Regions from separate parts of the Homo sapiens genome. Here regions 2, 3, 4 and 5 are each linked to region 1. The links are contacts of gene promoters, found by promoter capture Hi-C in blood cells and fetal thymus (Javierre and others, 2016). All regions are on one chromosome and are shown on one strand. Each heading gives the region's core, a stretch centred on a gene start or on the middle of the fragment in contact. The rest is flanking DNA. Distances are from core to core; before and after follow the strand shown.

Region 1 (2,743 bases), core at 103-2,602:
TAACTGCTCCCTTCTTAAACTGAAACCTGCACTGCAGCTTTTTCTCAGAGAAGGAAATATTCCTCCTACCCCTTCCCAATTTAGATTTGCAAGTTTTCTACATTTTCAAAAACAAAAAACAAAAAAACAAAAAACAAACAACAAGAAACGTAGACTAGTTGGGAGGAGCCCCTAGCGGAGTTAATTACAGCACTTCACAGATCGTAGTTAGCAATTGACAGTTTCACACCCAAAACAGTATCGTCATCGCCAACAAGAGCTTTTGTTTGCAAATGCAGCGCAGTTTTTCTAGCTTTGCCTGCAAGTTGGAGTGACTGGGTTTTATTCTGAAGGGAAATGGGGGCTGAGGAAGAGAAAGGAGAGAGATACGGGAAAGAGTCATTGACTAATGACTGGAACCCCGTAACTGAAAGGAAATTTCTTGTCCCCCCGCACCCCGCCCCACGCCCCAAACACACACACTTCTGACCATAAACACAAAAGGTTGGGGCTCTGCAATCTTATCTGCGCAATATGAGCCAGCAACCGCTCCATTAGTAGCAAACAATAGGGACTCCCCCAAGGAGGCCCCAAATGGACCCCCTAAACCAGAAATCCCCCTCCTTTCCTCCAAGAGTCGGGGGCTCCATAAATACCCTCTTGTTATTGACCCGCAAGGCCTACTGCAATCAAGCAGCGGCCGGTTTGCTTCTAAACCGAGCCCTCCAATACAGCATGTCCCTGCCGCCCCCTATAGGGCCGCCTCGTACCCTATAACCTCCACCATCATCCCCCTAAGTCCTTGCCGCCCCCTTCGGCCTCATATTCCCTCATCTTCGATAAAGCTACTCCGAGTACTTAGCCTGTTCCTCCTGCCGACCCTGCTGCGCACCACATTCCTATATTCGCCTCCTCTCAGGCGCTCCCACCCCACACAGCTGCCGACCGCCTTCCTCCCCAGGCCCGGCCAGGCCTTAGGCCTCCGCCCGAGAGTCCCCCAGAGCCGGCCCGGGGGGCTCCCCACAGCCCCCAAAGCACCGCTGACCTCGACCCCACCACCTCACCCCAAGCCTCGCGACTCGGGCCCGTGTCCTACCAACGAGGCCACTCCCGCTCGGCACCCTCGGTCCTTTATTGTTGACTCGAAGCTCCCAAAATGGCGGACGCTCCTTCCTCCTCGGAAACCTCCGCCCGCCCCCACCCAGCCCTCTCGCTACGGCCTCCTCTCGCCCCCGCCCCCGCCCCGCTCCGAGGGGCGCGCAGGCCAGCCGCCCGAGCCGCCGGCTCCCCCGGCTGTCCAGCCCTACCTCCTCCGCTGCCCGCTCTCGTGGCGCCGCCGAAGTCGCCGCCTGGCTGAGCTAACTCGGCTCCTCTGCCCCCTCCCTCGCTCGCCCGTTCGCCCGCCCGCCGCCTCCTCCCTCTTTCCCTGCCTCTCCGCATGGCGGCGACCGCGGCTCCTCCTCCACTCAAGATGGCGAAACCTCGGCCGCCGCGGCTATATTCGCCGCGGCGTCACTGCCTTCCTGGCCTGGTGGTGAGAGGAAGTCGGGCCGCGAAAGCTTCCTGAGGAGAAAATGGAGGGCCCTTCTCTCACACCGACGAGAAAAGTTCGAGGGGGAAATACGAGTTCCTTTCTGAAGGGACAGGACGGCTGCTTTTCCACAGCCGCGACGTGATTGAGAAATGGTGGCTGGCAAGGGTAGGCCTGCCTTCGCCCCTCCAAAGTAAAAATCGGGAGTTGAGACCAGAGGAACATCTCTTTATTACATGACTAAGGATATGTTTTGAAAACTGGCCCCCGGGCAGCTGCTCGGGGACAGGAAGCTGACCTGACTTCTCCAGCTGGCCGGGGAGGCTGATGCCGGGCCTAAGGGGCCGCGTCCGAGCCTCTCGGGGCGCGCCTCCATGCAGGAAGGCGCGGAACTAGCGACCCGGAGACGCCGGGCGCGCGTCTGAGTGTGGGGGCAGGAAGGGGGGCCGACCGGGCCCGGAGGCCGCACCAGGCAGGAGGGAGGACTCCAGAGAGTGCGCGGGGGGCGCTGCGCGGTGGGACGGGGCGAGCCTGTAGGGCGCGCCTGGCGGCGGGTAGGCTCCGGGCTTGAGGGTGCGCCTGGGGGCGCTGGTTGTGGGGGAAGGCACCGGGCTTGAGGGTGCACCTGGGCGGGGGAAGTCTTCGGGCATGAGGGCGCGCCTGCGGGTGGTATGGGGGGGTACACCGAGCTTGAGGGTGCGCCCGGGGGGCTCTCATGTGAAGGGTACCAGGCTTGAGGGCGCCCCTGCGGGGGGCGCAGAGGCACCGAGCTTGAGGGTGCGCCTCGGGGGTCTGCGGGGGGAAGGCACCGGACTTGAGCGTGCGCCGGGAGAGGACGGCGGGGGACCGGACTGTGAGGGCGTATCTTGGGGGACCTGTCTAGGAGGAACCGGGAGGTGAAGGCACAACTGGGGGTGAGGCGGGGGCAGGGGCCGGGCTGTGAGAGTGCGACTGAGGGGGGATTACTCCGGAGAGCACGGAGCTGGGGGCGTTGCGCAGGTGGAGTGGGGAGGCCTGGTGGAGAGGGTAGCAAACCGAGAGAGCGCACCGGGGTGGTGGGGGGAGAAGCTGGACTGTAAGGTGAAGAGTTAGTAGGGCGCAACCGTCTTCTCCTGCCCTCGAAGGGCAAGACTGAAGAAAGTAGGGGCGGAGGAGGCCGGGCCCTCCACTAAAGGGAGGGAAGCTAGTGAAGCGTCAGTTATAATAGAAATAGGAATTCAGTAAGGAAATGGA
Region 2 (2,743 bases), core at 244-2,743, 450 kb before region 1:
ATCCCATGTACAGTTTTCCACCCTTGGTTAGAAGGAGGAGAACAGGAAAAAAATTTTATTGAATCCATCCCTAGAGCTCCTCACAAGTCAAGTCTTGTGGGAGACTTTTAGGGCTGGAGGTGAGTGCAGCAACATTCCAGATGCAGTGAGTTCCTCTGACAGCCTGAGCACATCTCCACAGGCCACAGAGGCACTACAGTCTATGCCTCCAAACACAGGGAAAAGTGGAGGCTACATTCATTCATCCTGGGCTTCACACTAAGTCCCAAATTTGGATACAAGAGCATCTTCTAGAAAACCCTGAAACAGCTGTTGCTCACACTTCTGAAGCAGGTTGGAAGTATATGCATGTATCCTCAGGGAGACACATGCACATCAAATGCTTCACGTCCTACAGTCGCGTCCTCTTCAGGGATCTGTCTCCAGTGGAAATCCTGAGTGCCCTAGTGCAGCCAACTATTAGGTGACCATTGGACCCAGTTTGCTTAGTGTTGAAGGGGTTCCTCGGACATGGGACTTTCCATTTTAAAACTGAAATTGGCAAACTGAGATGAGTTAAAATCCTACCATGTAACAACCCCTCAAATCTTCCCTCCGTCCTGCTCAACCTAAAGTTAACTTCTCTTAAAGCATTCACATAAGTGCTAGGACATGCCTCCAGGGATGACATAATCATGGCCAAACAAACAAGAGTCCTGATTCCAGAGGCCATCAGGCCTAAAAGGAGTAGTGCAGGAAGCTGTGCTCCCATGGCCAGTCCCAGATTCAGGTACATACGTACTGAGCTATTTTCTGCAGATCTCTGGCCTAAGGCCTTCTGAGAGACATTCTAGGCCCACATGCACCCATGGCTGGAGTCAGTCAAAGCCAAGAGCCTGTTTCCCAGACTCTATGCTACATCCTGCCCCTGCCCTCCTGACACCCCTGGGGTGCCTGGTGAACTGAAGCTAGCACCGAGAAGCACTTTTTTTTTTTTTTGAGATAAGGTCTCACAGGTTGCCTAGGTTGGAGGGCAGTGGCATGATCACAGCTCACTGAAGCCTTGAAATCCCGGGCTCAAGTGACCCTCCTGCCTCAGCCTCTCAAATAGCTGGGACTACAGTTGTGCACCACCATGCCTGGCTAATTCTTTTGTTTTTTGTAAAGATAGAGTCTCATCATGTTGCTCAGACTGGTCTCAAACTCCTGGCCTCAAAGGATCCTCCCACTTCGGCCTCCCAAAGCTCTGGGATTACTGGTGTGAGCCACCGTGCCTGGCAAGAAACACTTTCAAGTGGGCCTCACTCCCATCAGTAATGTCCCTCTCAGGTCCCTTCCCCCACCCACCTGGAGTAGCCTTACCTTGCGAGAGAAGGGTAGCCAGTACCAGGCCAGAGAGAAACGTGCTATGTTCCATCTCCCAGCGGAACTCATCCAGTAGATAAAGCCAGGTCACCGAACTATCAGCCTGGGTGAGAGCTGCCCTCCCCTAGCTGACTCACAGGTACCGGAAAGAGGAGAGTGGGGGAGGAACTAGAAGATGTCTGCTTCTCTGCTTTCTGCCGTTGATGGTGGGAAATTTTCAGAGTGGGGGTGGGCTAGGGGTAGGGTAGGAAGGAAGCGGTGTAAATTGCTCTATCTCTGAGCAGGGAGCTGGCAGAGAATATGGAAAAGGTGGCCTGAACTTTAGCGTCCCTATTGACAATGCAACCACATTTACACACAACCTAAACACTGCCACATCTCGAAGCCCCTTGAGAGAAGCCGTCGGCCCCATAGCGCAAGCCGTAGCAGCTAGATTTCTCATGGAGGCTGATCTTTCTCAGGACCCTTCACTAGGCAGCCAGGGACACCAGATCTAGCAGCTTCTTGTCAGTGGGAGGTTGGGCTTTAGAGACCCCAGCCAGAGATTTGAATCCTGGGTCCAATACTGCCTACCTGTGGGGCCTGGGCCAGCCATAAAATTTTTCAGAGTCTTATTCCATTAGTACCATTATTAGGATTCAAACAAGATATTTGCATGGTGCCTCACGCATCATATGTGCTCATTAAGGGGTAGTTATTAATAATAATATAATTGACTGACAGGCAATATTGAGCCTCCCGGTGAGACAAATGGACCTTTTTCCCCTGTGGCCTACGAGGATCTGAAACTCTTCACGCTGCTGCAGTTAGACTGTCACTTACCTGGGGACAGAGTCATGCCTGTCTTGCTCACTGCTGTATCTTGTGCCTGGCACATAACGGGAGCTCTGCACATTTTTGTTGGCTCACTGACTGACTGGCTGAGGGAGATAGGGGCCTGAGATCCTGGACATTCAGTCCGGGCTCTGGCCCCTGAAAATGTGCTGGCCTGTCCTCGGAATTGTTCCACCTATTGCCTTCCAGGCGCCTCTTTCATGATCTCAAAAGAATAGTGAAACCAGGTGCCGTGTCTCACGCCTGTAATCCCAACACTTTGGGAGGCTGAGGCAGGTGGATCACAAGGTCAGGAGTTCGAGACCAGCCTGACCAACAAGGTGAAACCCCGTCTCTACTAAAAATACAAAAATTAGCCGGGCTTGCTGGCACGCACCTGTAATCTCAGCTACTCAGGAGGCTGAGGCAGGAGAATCGCTTGAACCCCGGAGGTGGAGGTTGCAGTGAGCTGAGATAGCGCCACTGCACTCCAGCCTGGGCAACAAAGTGAGACTCTGTCTCAAAAAAGAAAAAGAAAAAAAAAGTGAAAAAAATTCCTGAATGAAGGCCTGGACTGAGGTGGCTT
Region 3 (2,743 bases), core at 95-2,594, 420 kb after region 1:
TAAATTGCAAACCCAGGATGCCTGTCTGAATGGTCCCTGCATTCAAAGATATTTTCCCCTTTACAGGAGCACCGGATAAATTTAACTCCCTAATCTGTCAAGGGCTTTGTGGAAGAGCCTGGAGGGGGATCGAAGGCGGAACTGATACTGACACACCTGGGTCTGCAAACTCCCAAAACTGAGGCTCAGAATTAGTAAATTAGGGCAGGGCACTTCCCTCTTTGGAAGGGAAGTTCCTATTTTCAAAGTTCTTCCAACGGAACTTTTACATTAGAGAAGTGTAATTGACTGAGAAGTGGAAGTGACCAGGAACAGCATTTCTGTTCCCTGGGCGGGAGAGAGAACCCCCTCGGGCGGAGCCAGCAGCAGGTCAGCTTCTGAGGGGGCCCTCATGCTGGCGGCGCCGACCTGTGGTGCAATGCTCTGAGTAGGAGAATCTTAAATACATGTTTGAGATTCAATTCCCAGAAACGTAACTAGTCTTCACAAGCCAAAAAAATAAAAATAAAAAATAAAAAAAGGAAGTGATTTCTTTTCAAGAGGTCAAAGGGCCTGGAAGAAGAGGTCCTGGCTTGAGTGTCTCAAGGCTTTCTGGGGCCTAATCCGGCTGGAATGGGCCGCAGCATTCATATTCCTGTCCTTGGTCGTGTCTTAATGAAGAATTGAAAATAATAAGGGGTGGAGAAATAACTTTCCTTTTTCTCCCACCATCCTCCCACAGTGTAAATAAACAAATAACTCTAAGCTCGATTTCCTCATTTGTCAGGGGTGGGGAAAGACTTGACATCAGGACTCTTCCATTCCATCGCCACCTGTCTTAATTTAAACATTCCCATGACCCACCCCAGAAGCGCCAACCTCCCGCCCACAAGGAGCATGGAAGTCTTGGTTTCTGGCTACTGCGCAGACTCCACCTTGGACCTACTCCCCAACCCCCCGCCGCTCCTTTCCCCGTTTCTCCAGCAGAGGGCGCAGGCCCAAAGGTTCCGCCGACCCCGCCCCAGCCTGGCCCCGCCCCGCCCCGGCGTAGGGGCGGGGAAGACGGGCACAGAAACCTGGCCGCGGCTTTCCGGGAGCTGTGGGCACGCGAGCTGCTCGAAGCCGGTGGCCCGGGGATCGTCGCTGCCCAGTCCGGCCGCGGCCGGCCGCTTCCCCGAGCTTACCAGTAAGCCGGTCCGCCTCCGGGACGCGCCCCGCCCGCCCCGGGCTCGCGCGCTCTGAAGGGGCGCGTCCCGCGCACTCCCGGCGCCGCCCACTCCCCTCCCCACGGCCGCTCCTCCCTCCGCCCGGATAGCCGGCGGCGGCGGCGGCGGCGGCGGCGGCGGCGGCCGGGAGAGGCCCCTCCTTCACGCCCTGCTTCTCTCCCTCGCTCGCAGTCGAGCCGAGCCGGCGGACCCGCCTGGGCTCCGACCCTGCCCAGGCCATGGCCGGCAACGTGAAGAAGAGCTCTGGGGCCGGGGGCGGCAGCGGCTCCGGGGGCTCGGGTTCGGGTGGCCTGATTGGGCTCATGAAGGACGCCTTCCAGCCGCACCACCACCACCACCACCACCTCAGCCCCCACCCGCCGGGGACGGTGGACAAGAAGATGGTGGAGAAGTGCTGGAAGCTCATGGACAAGGTGAAAGGCCGGCTGAGCGCCCGCTGTTGCAGGGTGGGCGTGGGCGGAGGGCCGCGGGGAGGGGAACGAGCGGACGGAGGAAGCGGGGGAGGGGACGGGTCTGGTGAAGCCGGGGAGGCGCGGAGCCGGGGTGACCGGCCGGGGGCGTGGGGGCAGGGACGAGGCCGGGAGGGTGGGGGGCGGCGTGGGGGAGGGGCTGCCGTTGGGAGTCGGGGAACGCTGGGGTGCCGCGTTTGGGGTAGCCAGACAAAGATGGAGTGGGGGCTGGGGCGAAGGTTAACTGGGAAGTCAGTGGGGCGGAAGTACAATGAGGGGTGCGGAGTTTGGGGCTCTGTGCAGGGTGTAGGGATGTAGGTCACGGAATTGGCCTGGGAGGTTAGCAGGGAGGGGGTGAGGAAGAGTGATGTACCGGCTGGGGCTCTTGGCTGGGTGAGATCTGACTAGGGAATTAGGTTCATGGGCTCTGACTGAGGAACCTGGCTGGGGTCAGGACAGCTCTCAGGGAAGCTGTGCTCTGGGTGAGAGTATAGTCCTTTCTCATTAAGATGTAACACGAAGATAAAAGACATATTGATGTTTAAGTGAGGCAAGGAAAGAACTTTCCTCCCCATCTAGCGCCGGCTCAAGTTTTTTGTTACCCTCAGAAACACTGGATGTGATCCATTGCTGGTGCTGAGATATGCACTGATTAAACCACAAGTTCTGGTTAGAACTATTATCTTCTGAAAGATGGACTGGCTGAGCCTGTTAAGCAGCAGCAGATTCTGACTTCTTAATAACTTCCTCCCTACTACATCGCTTGAGCTGGGTTCTTTTTTTCTGGTAACGGTTCTGACTCCTTATTACAGGTCCTGACTTTAAACTTGTTCGTTGAGCTTCTTTGATTACGCTTTTTTGTTTGTTTGCTTTTTGCAAGTGCGAACAAAAATAACTCCTTTATATTTAGCCACTAAGTTTGTCATTTGGGAGAATTTTACTTCCTTATAGTTGTGTCTATATGATGAAATGTAGTCAGTCTCAAGTATTTAACTGTTTAAGCAGTCGGACGCTTTGTCAGAATTCAATACGTTTTCTTGGTATTTTTCATATTCTTTAATTAATTACTTTGACAAAATTCATATTGCG
Region 4 (2,743 bases), core at 129-2,628, 350 kb before region 1:
AGCGAACTCCCCCTCGGCTTGGGGGATGGAGGCTGCCCCGGGGCCTGCAGGCTGTGTATCGATCCCCCAGCCTCAGCCAACGCAAGTTCTCCCGACACAAACCCCTCCCTACCCTCTCGGCTTTCCCAGCCTTGCAGGCGTCTAACGCTATGCTCGAGGCGCCCTCCCCTCTTTCCCGCAATAAAGTAAACCCGGTGGATATTCATTCCCCTCCCTAACTCGCCTCCTTCTTTCCCCCTCCCCCCTCAGCTTACTAACCCCGCGCACAGAGCTCGCCGCCGGCGGGCCCCTTCCACCCAGTGTATCATAATGCCCAACGCTCTCCTCCTCCCCCTCTCTTAATCAGAAACGTGCTCGCGAGCCCCCCTCCCTCTGCGTGCATACATTAGGGTCTGCTTTGCATGCAGCGGCAGGCAGAGACCGGAGGAAGAAGGGGCGGGGGCGCTTTTGCCCGCCTCTTCCCTCCAGGCCCCGTTAGCCACCCAGCTTCAGCTTCGTTGTAACACCGCGTCGTTAGCGGAGCACGCCGTGGCCTCAGTGCCCGGGCTGGAGAAACACAACCCAACTCCCTGCAGAAGGGCACGAAAGCCAGACGAGTGCACAGTAGAGCGAGGAGGTGGCAGGAGACCTGCCACTCGGTGTGTGCTTTTTGGAAAGAGCTCCAGCATGAAAATGGGAGGGGCTCCTTTTTTATTTTTTAAAGTGCGTTCATTGAGGGCCTTTCTGTTTTGCATATAGTAAACTGGGCAGCGCTTCTGTTTTGCATGTAGTACAATAAGGGCTCTTTTATTCTAGAAGCGTTCAATTCGGGCTAACCCATCTTGTATCCGTGCCCTGGGGCGGAGGAGAAGGCTCACTGCTCCCCGACCCAGCCGCCGCGTTATACTGGAAGCTGCTCTCCCGGGCTGTTCGATTCCCAGCGCGTCCCGGGAACGTGTGTAATCGGCCTCTCGGCGCTCAAGGCTGCAGGCGGCCCGGCTCCCTACGCCTCCATCCTCCGCGTAGTCCTCGCCCCCTCCCCCTCTCTCCGGAACCCGCGCTCTGCTCCGGGCTCCCGGGCTTCCTTCCCCCCTCCTTTTCCCGAGCAATGCCTCTCCCGGAGGGCGGGGCATGCAGTTATCCAGGTTGCGGGGCCGGCGGGCGGGCAGGAGGCGGCGGCCCGGGCCTCGGGATGGAGTTGCAGCGCCCAGGCGTCAGAGGCGGAGGCCCGAGGCCGCTATACAGATTGCGGGGCTGGCGGGCGCGGCCCGGCGCTCTGCATAGCGGCCGGCAGGGTGCAGGCGGCCGGGCGGCGCAGAGCTGGTTAGGCAGGTTCCGGGGCCCCGTGCCCCCCCCTCCGCCTCCCCGCCCCCCTGTGTTGTCGCCTCTCCCTCTCGCTGCTTCACTTCACGGGGCGAACATGGCGCACAGCTGTCGGTGGCGCTTCCCCGCCCGACCCGGGACCACCGGGGGCGGCGGCGGCGGGGGGCGCCGGGGCCTAGGGGGCGCCCCGCGGCAACGCGTCCCGGCCCTGCTGCTTCCCCCCGGGCCCCCGGTCGGCGGTGGCGGCCCCGGGGCGCCCCCCTCCCCCCCGGCTGTGGCGGCCGCGGCGGCGGCGGCGGGAAGCAGCGGGGCTGGGGTTCCAGGGGGAGCGGCCGCCGCCTCAGCAGCCTCCTCGTCGTCCGCCTCGTCTTCGTCTTCGTCATCGTCCTCAGCCTCTTCAGGGCCGGCCCTGCTCCGGGTGGGCCCGGGCTTCGACGCGGCGCTGCAGGTCTCGGCCGCCATCGGCACCAACCTGCGCCGGTTCCGGGCCGTGTTTGGGGAGAGCGGCGGGGGAGGCGGCAGCGGAGAGGTAAGGGGGCGAGGAACCCCCAGGTCCGGGGTCTCGACCCTCTGCGGAGCCCCCTCCCCTCCCCCATCCGGGATTGAGGAGCATCCCAATTCTGGGACCATCTCGGGGTCCCTGACCCGGGGCGAATGGCTCTCCCATCTTGGGACCCCCATGCAGGGCTGCAGACCCCCAGGCGCCCCCACCCCGGGGTTTGGGCCCATCTGGCTGAGGGCGTTTGCCCCCCGCTCTCCTCCCCCTGACCCTTCCCCAAATCCCTTGGCACAGACCCCCTCGCCGGGGTTTCCCATCCCGGGACTGAACCCCTCCTCCCTTTCACAGATTACCTCATCCGAGCAAGATTCCTCCCTCCCTCCCTCCTAGAGACCTGATCCCGCCACATCCCCGCCTCCCTCTCTGGGCAGATGTGTTACTCCTAGGGCAGTTTTCCTCTCGGGCGTCTCTCGGGTGATGGCCTCATCCAGGGCCACGTTCTCCTGGCCCTTGGGGATCGTGTCCCTTCCAGCACCTTGCTTTCGAAAACCCGATGAACCCTCGCGCCATCCCCGGGCCAGGTCCCTATACTGCCAGCCACTCCCCCTTCCTTCACCTCCACCCTCTACCCCCACCCCAAGCAGACCGATCCTCCCCCATCCCGCCCTACCCCACCGGGGAAAATCTCTCCTCTGCACCTTGCCTGGTCTCACCTCCTTTCCCTCTGAAGATAACGGTGATTCCTCATACAGCAGTCTCTTCCCCCCCCCGCCCCGTCTTACAGGGCTACAGTTTCTAGCCTATTGGTAGCCGGGAATTACTCTACCTTCACTCCACCCTTTCCCTCCTTTAGAATGAAGGATTAGTGGCATCTTGGAGGGGAAAATAGTCCACTGTCCCCTAGGCTTAGAGAAGAGCAGCTTTCCACCACTCCCCTTGGAG
Region 5 (2,743 bases), core at 171-2,670, 330 kb after region 1:
AGCGATTCTCCTGCCTCAGCCTCCCGAGTAGCTGAGATTATAGGCGCCCGCCACGATGCCCAGCTAGTTTTTGTATTTTTAGTAGAGACGGGGTTTCCCCATGTTGGCCAGGCTGGTCTTGAGCTCCTGACCTCATGTGATCCACTCGCCTCGGCCTCCCAAAGTGCTGGGATCACAGGCGTGAGCCACGACACCCGGCCCACTGATGGAGTTATAAAGGTGAAGAACTAGTCTAGTGAAGAATGCAGACTGAGAGTAAACAGACAAATACAATGTGACTGAGCTGTATTGTTAAATACAAGAAAGGACTATCAGGAAGACTTTTTGGAAAAAGAAGCATCTACACTGAGACCATAAAAATTAGTAGGAGTCAGTCAAATAAATGTGGGAGGAGGAGAAAGGGATTATTCCAGGTAAAGAAAACAAGTTCAAGGCTTGAGAGGTAAAAGGTGGCTTGGTGTGGTGGAAAAGGTGAAAGAAATTTGCGACTGGAGAGCAAGAAATATGGTCGAGAAGGACTAAAAAAAAGTAGACAGGGAGAGCCCAGATGCTGAAGGGTCTAGAAAACCTCAGTATGGTTTTGGAGCTTTGCCCTGAAAGCAATAGAATGCCTTTGAATTGTCTGAAGCAGATGGTAACTTGATCAGGTCTGCTTTTTGCAAAGTGGAGAATGCTTTGGAAGGAAGCAAGTGTGCACGCAGCGGGACCCATTAGACTAATGTATAAATCCTGCCTGGAGGTCATCACTGGACAGGGGAGGTGGGGGAGGCGGTGAAGATAAACAAAAGGGGATAAATTTGAAATATCCTGTTTTAAAAGGAGGTAGAATCCACAGAACTTGGCAATGGATTGGATGTGAGAAGTGAGAGGAATCAGTGATGACTGCCAGCTTTCTGACCTGAACGAGTGGATGAAGGGAAGCCGAGTTTTGGGGGGAAAGAGAAACATATAATACCAACATTTAAAACATAATAAGACTAAGAGGCTGAAGGAAAGGGTAGAACCTTCAATCTGAGCCGAGCGGGGCCGACAGCGCTGGGCAGCATCCCACGCCTTTTTCTCCGCGAGGCCCACGCAACCAGCCAACTAAAGCGAAGAACCACGTGAGGGAGACCCCACTGCGCACCAGGCGCGAGCCCTGCGCATGCCCGTTGGGTCCCGGAGGCCGAGCCTGCGCAGTTAGGGGAACTCAGGCCCATAGGCTCCCCGCCTTTGCGTTGCCCTGAGCAGCGAGGCGCGGTCACGTGCTACCTTTTGCACGTATCCTGTCGCCCCTCTGTCCGCCCGGGACGCCTAGCCCCACCCACTGTTCCCGCCCCTTCCGTGTTTTGGTGCGCACGGGTTCCGCCAGACACAGCTACCATTGGCTGTCAGTCGGATCCGAGAACGACGATTGGCTTTCCTTGACCGTCCCTCAAGCGCCTCTCCGGAGATGGTCTGAGGTGGGAGAAGAGCTGAAGAGACCTGGAGCCGACAGACGGTAAGCTGGGGTATGTGCTCTGCAGGGGCTGCAGGAGGCCAAGCTCTTCCCGAGCCACCTCGGCGAGTATTCTTGCCGCTTGGCCACGCTGGTCTGCCCTGGTCCGGTCCCCTCACCCCGACTGGAACCTCCCTGCTTTCTAGTCTAGGGGCTTCGCTGCGGCTGAGACTCGGTCGCCGCCACGCCTTAGCGTGAAGGATTCCGGGAAGCCTGCGGGACTGCGAGTGGAGAGGTTTTGCCCAACGGGACGGTCTCCTTCCTTCTGTCCAAATTCTACCTGTCCTTCGAGGCGTGGTGCGGGCCCCACTGCTTAGGGGAGACTTCCTTTTCGCCTGACCGCGGAGGTGTCTCTCTGTCCTGGTCTCCCTCATCGGGTACTTTGTTTCGGTCGTTGTCTTCACGTATCAGTCTTATCTTTTTGGCCAAATTATGAGTTCTTAGGCGTTTAGGACCCTTTTTTTCTTGAATACCACAGTTCATTCATTGTCTTGCGTTACAGTATATGCCCTCTTAAGTGTTAAGAGGGTAGAGTGAAGATCATGCCCCTATCTCCTCAGAGTAGAAACAAGAGACACAGAAAGAGAAATTAAAGAAGACAGGAGGACAGTCAGAGAGCGTCAGGGAGTTTTGCCTAGGTTTCAGATCATTCTGTATCGCCAGCTAGCTTGCCTCCTTGGACTTACCCACCAGTCTAACAGCAGGTGTATGTTTAGAATATTTGTGCTCGGCACAGTGTAGGGACACGGGCAGGTGTGATATGGTTTCTGCTCAGAAGCTTCTTATAGTCCAATTGGGTAAACGAGACTAGAACACATAAAACGACCATGGCAACATGAAAATAGGGTTGAAGTTTTATGGTGTCAGCTGTGCCAGCCATAGAACTAAGGAGCAAGAGTAGATTCAGGGATGGGGTAGTTTAGGAAGGCTTCCCGGAATGTGATTATCTCCTGATATTTATTGAGTACCTGGGGTGTGCAAAGCTCTGTGCTGAATCTGAGAATGAGAAGTGAATAAGTGATGGCCACTGTCCTGAGAAACTCCTAGTCTAGGGGAAACAAGTTTCATTGCATTGATAGCAAAGATGTGTGTGGATGCCGTGGGCAAGAGATGGGATATGCCAGCTGTACCTGGATGAATTGGGAAGGGGGTCATCAAAGAGAAGACTTTGGGGTTTGAAAGGCGAATAGAAGTTGCATAGGTAGGCCTGTCGCGGTGGCTCACACCTGTAATCCCAGCACTTTGTGAGGCCGAGGCGGGCGGATC

Evidence for each region. Contacts are between HindIII fragments. The CHiCAGO score rates a contact against its expected background, and 5 or more counts as called.
Region 2: a contact is called between the fragment with the promoter of CD3D here and the fragment with the promoter of DDX6 in region 1, in 1 of 17 cell types (fetal thymus). The highest score is 5.2, in fetal thymus.
Region 3: the fragment with the promoter of CBL here is called in contact with the fragment with the promoter of DDX6 in region 1 in 1 of 17 cell types (neutrophils); the score reaches 5.1 in neutrophils.
Region 4: the fragment with the promoter of KMT2A here is called in contact with the fragment with the promoter of DDX6 in region 1 in 1 of 17 cell types (fetal thymus); the score reaches 5.8 in fetal thymus.
Region 5: a contact is called between the fragment with the promoter of HINFP here and the fragment with the promoter of DDX6 in region 1, in 1 of 17 cell types (non-activated CD4 T cells). The highest score is 5.2, in non-activated CD4 T cells.

The regions. Positions count from the first base shown.
Region 1 is chr11:118,789,812-118,792,554 of GRCh38, forward strand. It overlaps DDX6 (DEAD-box helicase 6), which reads right to left and starts at 1,353. Exons shown (of 14, transcript NM_004397.6): 1 at 1,287-1,353. RefSeq lists enhancers at 1-510, 1-148, 1,459-1,568, 2,185-2,740 and silencers at 349-428, 1,059-1,388, 1,839-2,128. The HindIII fragment of the contact is 4,863 bases long and covers 1-1,536 here.
Region 2 is chr11:118,341,212-118,343,954 of GRCh38, forward strand. It overlaps CD3D (CD3 delta subunit of T-cell receptor complex), which reads right to left and starts at 1,494. Exons shown (of 5, transcript NM_000732.6): 1 at 1,342-1,494. The coding sequence starts at 1,396. The HindIII fragment of the contact is 13,588 bases long and covers 1-2,743 here.
Region 3 is chr11:119,204,995-119,207,737 of GRCh38, forward strand. It overlaps CBL (Cbl proto-oncogene), which reads left to right and starts at 1,345. Exons shown (of 16, transcript NM_005188.4): 1 at 1,345-1,618. The coding sequence starts at 1,424. RefSeq lists silencers at 853-922, 963-1,352, 1,423-1,612, 1,803-1,862. The HindIII fragment of the contact is 20,442 bases long and covers 1-2,743 here.
Region 4 is chr11:118,435,114-118,437,856 of GRCh38, forward strand. KMT2A (lysine methyltransferase 2A) reads left to right here and starts at 1,379. Exons shown (of 36, transcript NM_001197104.2): 1 at 1,379-1,831. The coding sequence starts at 1,400. RefSeq lists enhancers at 351-1,348, 548-687, 1,349-2,347, 2,348-2,743 and a silencer at 998-1,477. The HindIII fragment of the contact is 8,732 bases long and covers 1-2,743 here.
Region 5 is chr11:119,120,160-119,122,902 of GRCh38, forward strand. It overlaps HINFP (histone H4 transcription factor), which reads left to right and starts at 1,421. Exons shown (of 10, transcript NM_198971.3): 1 at 1,421-1,480. RefSeq lists a silencer at 1,155-1,434. The HindIII fragment of the contact is 5,005 bases long and covers 1-2,253 here.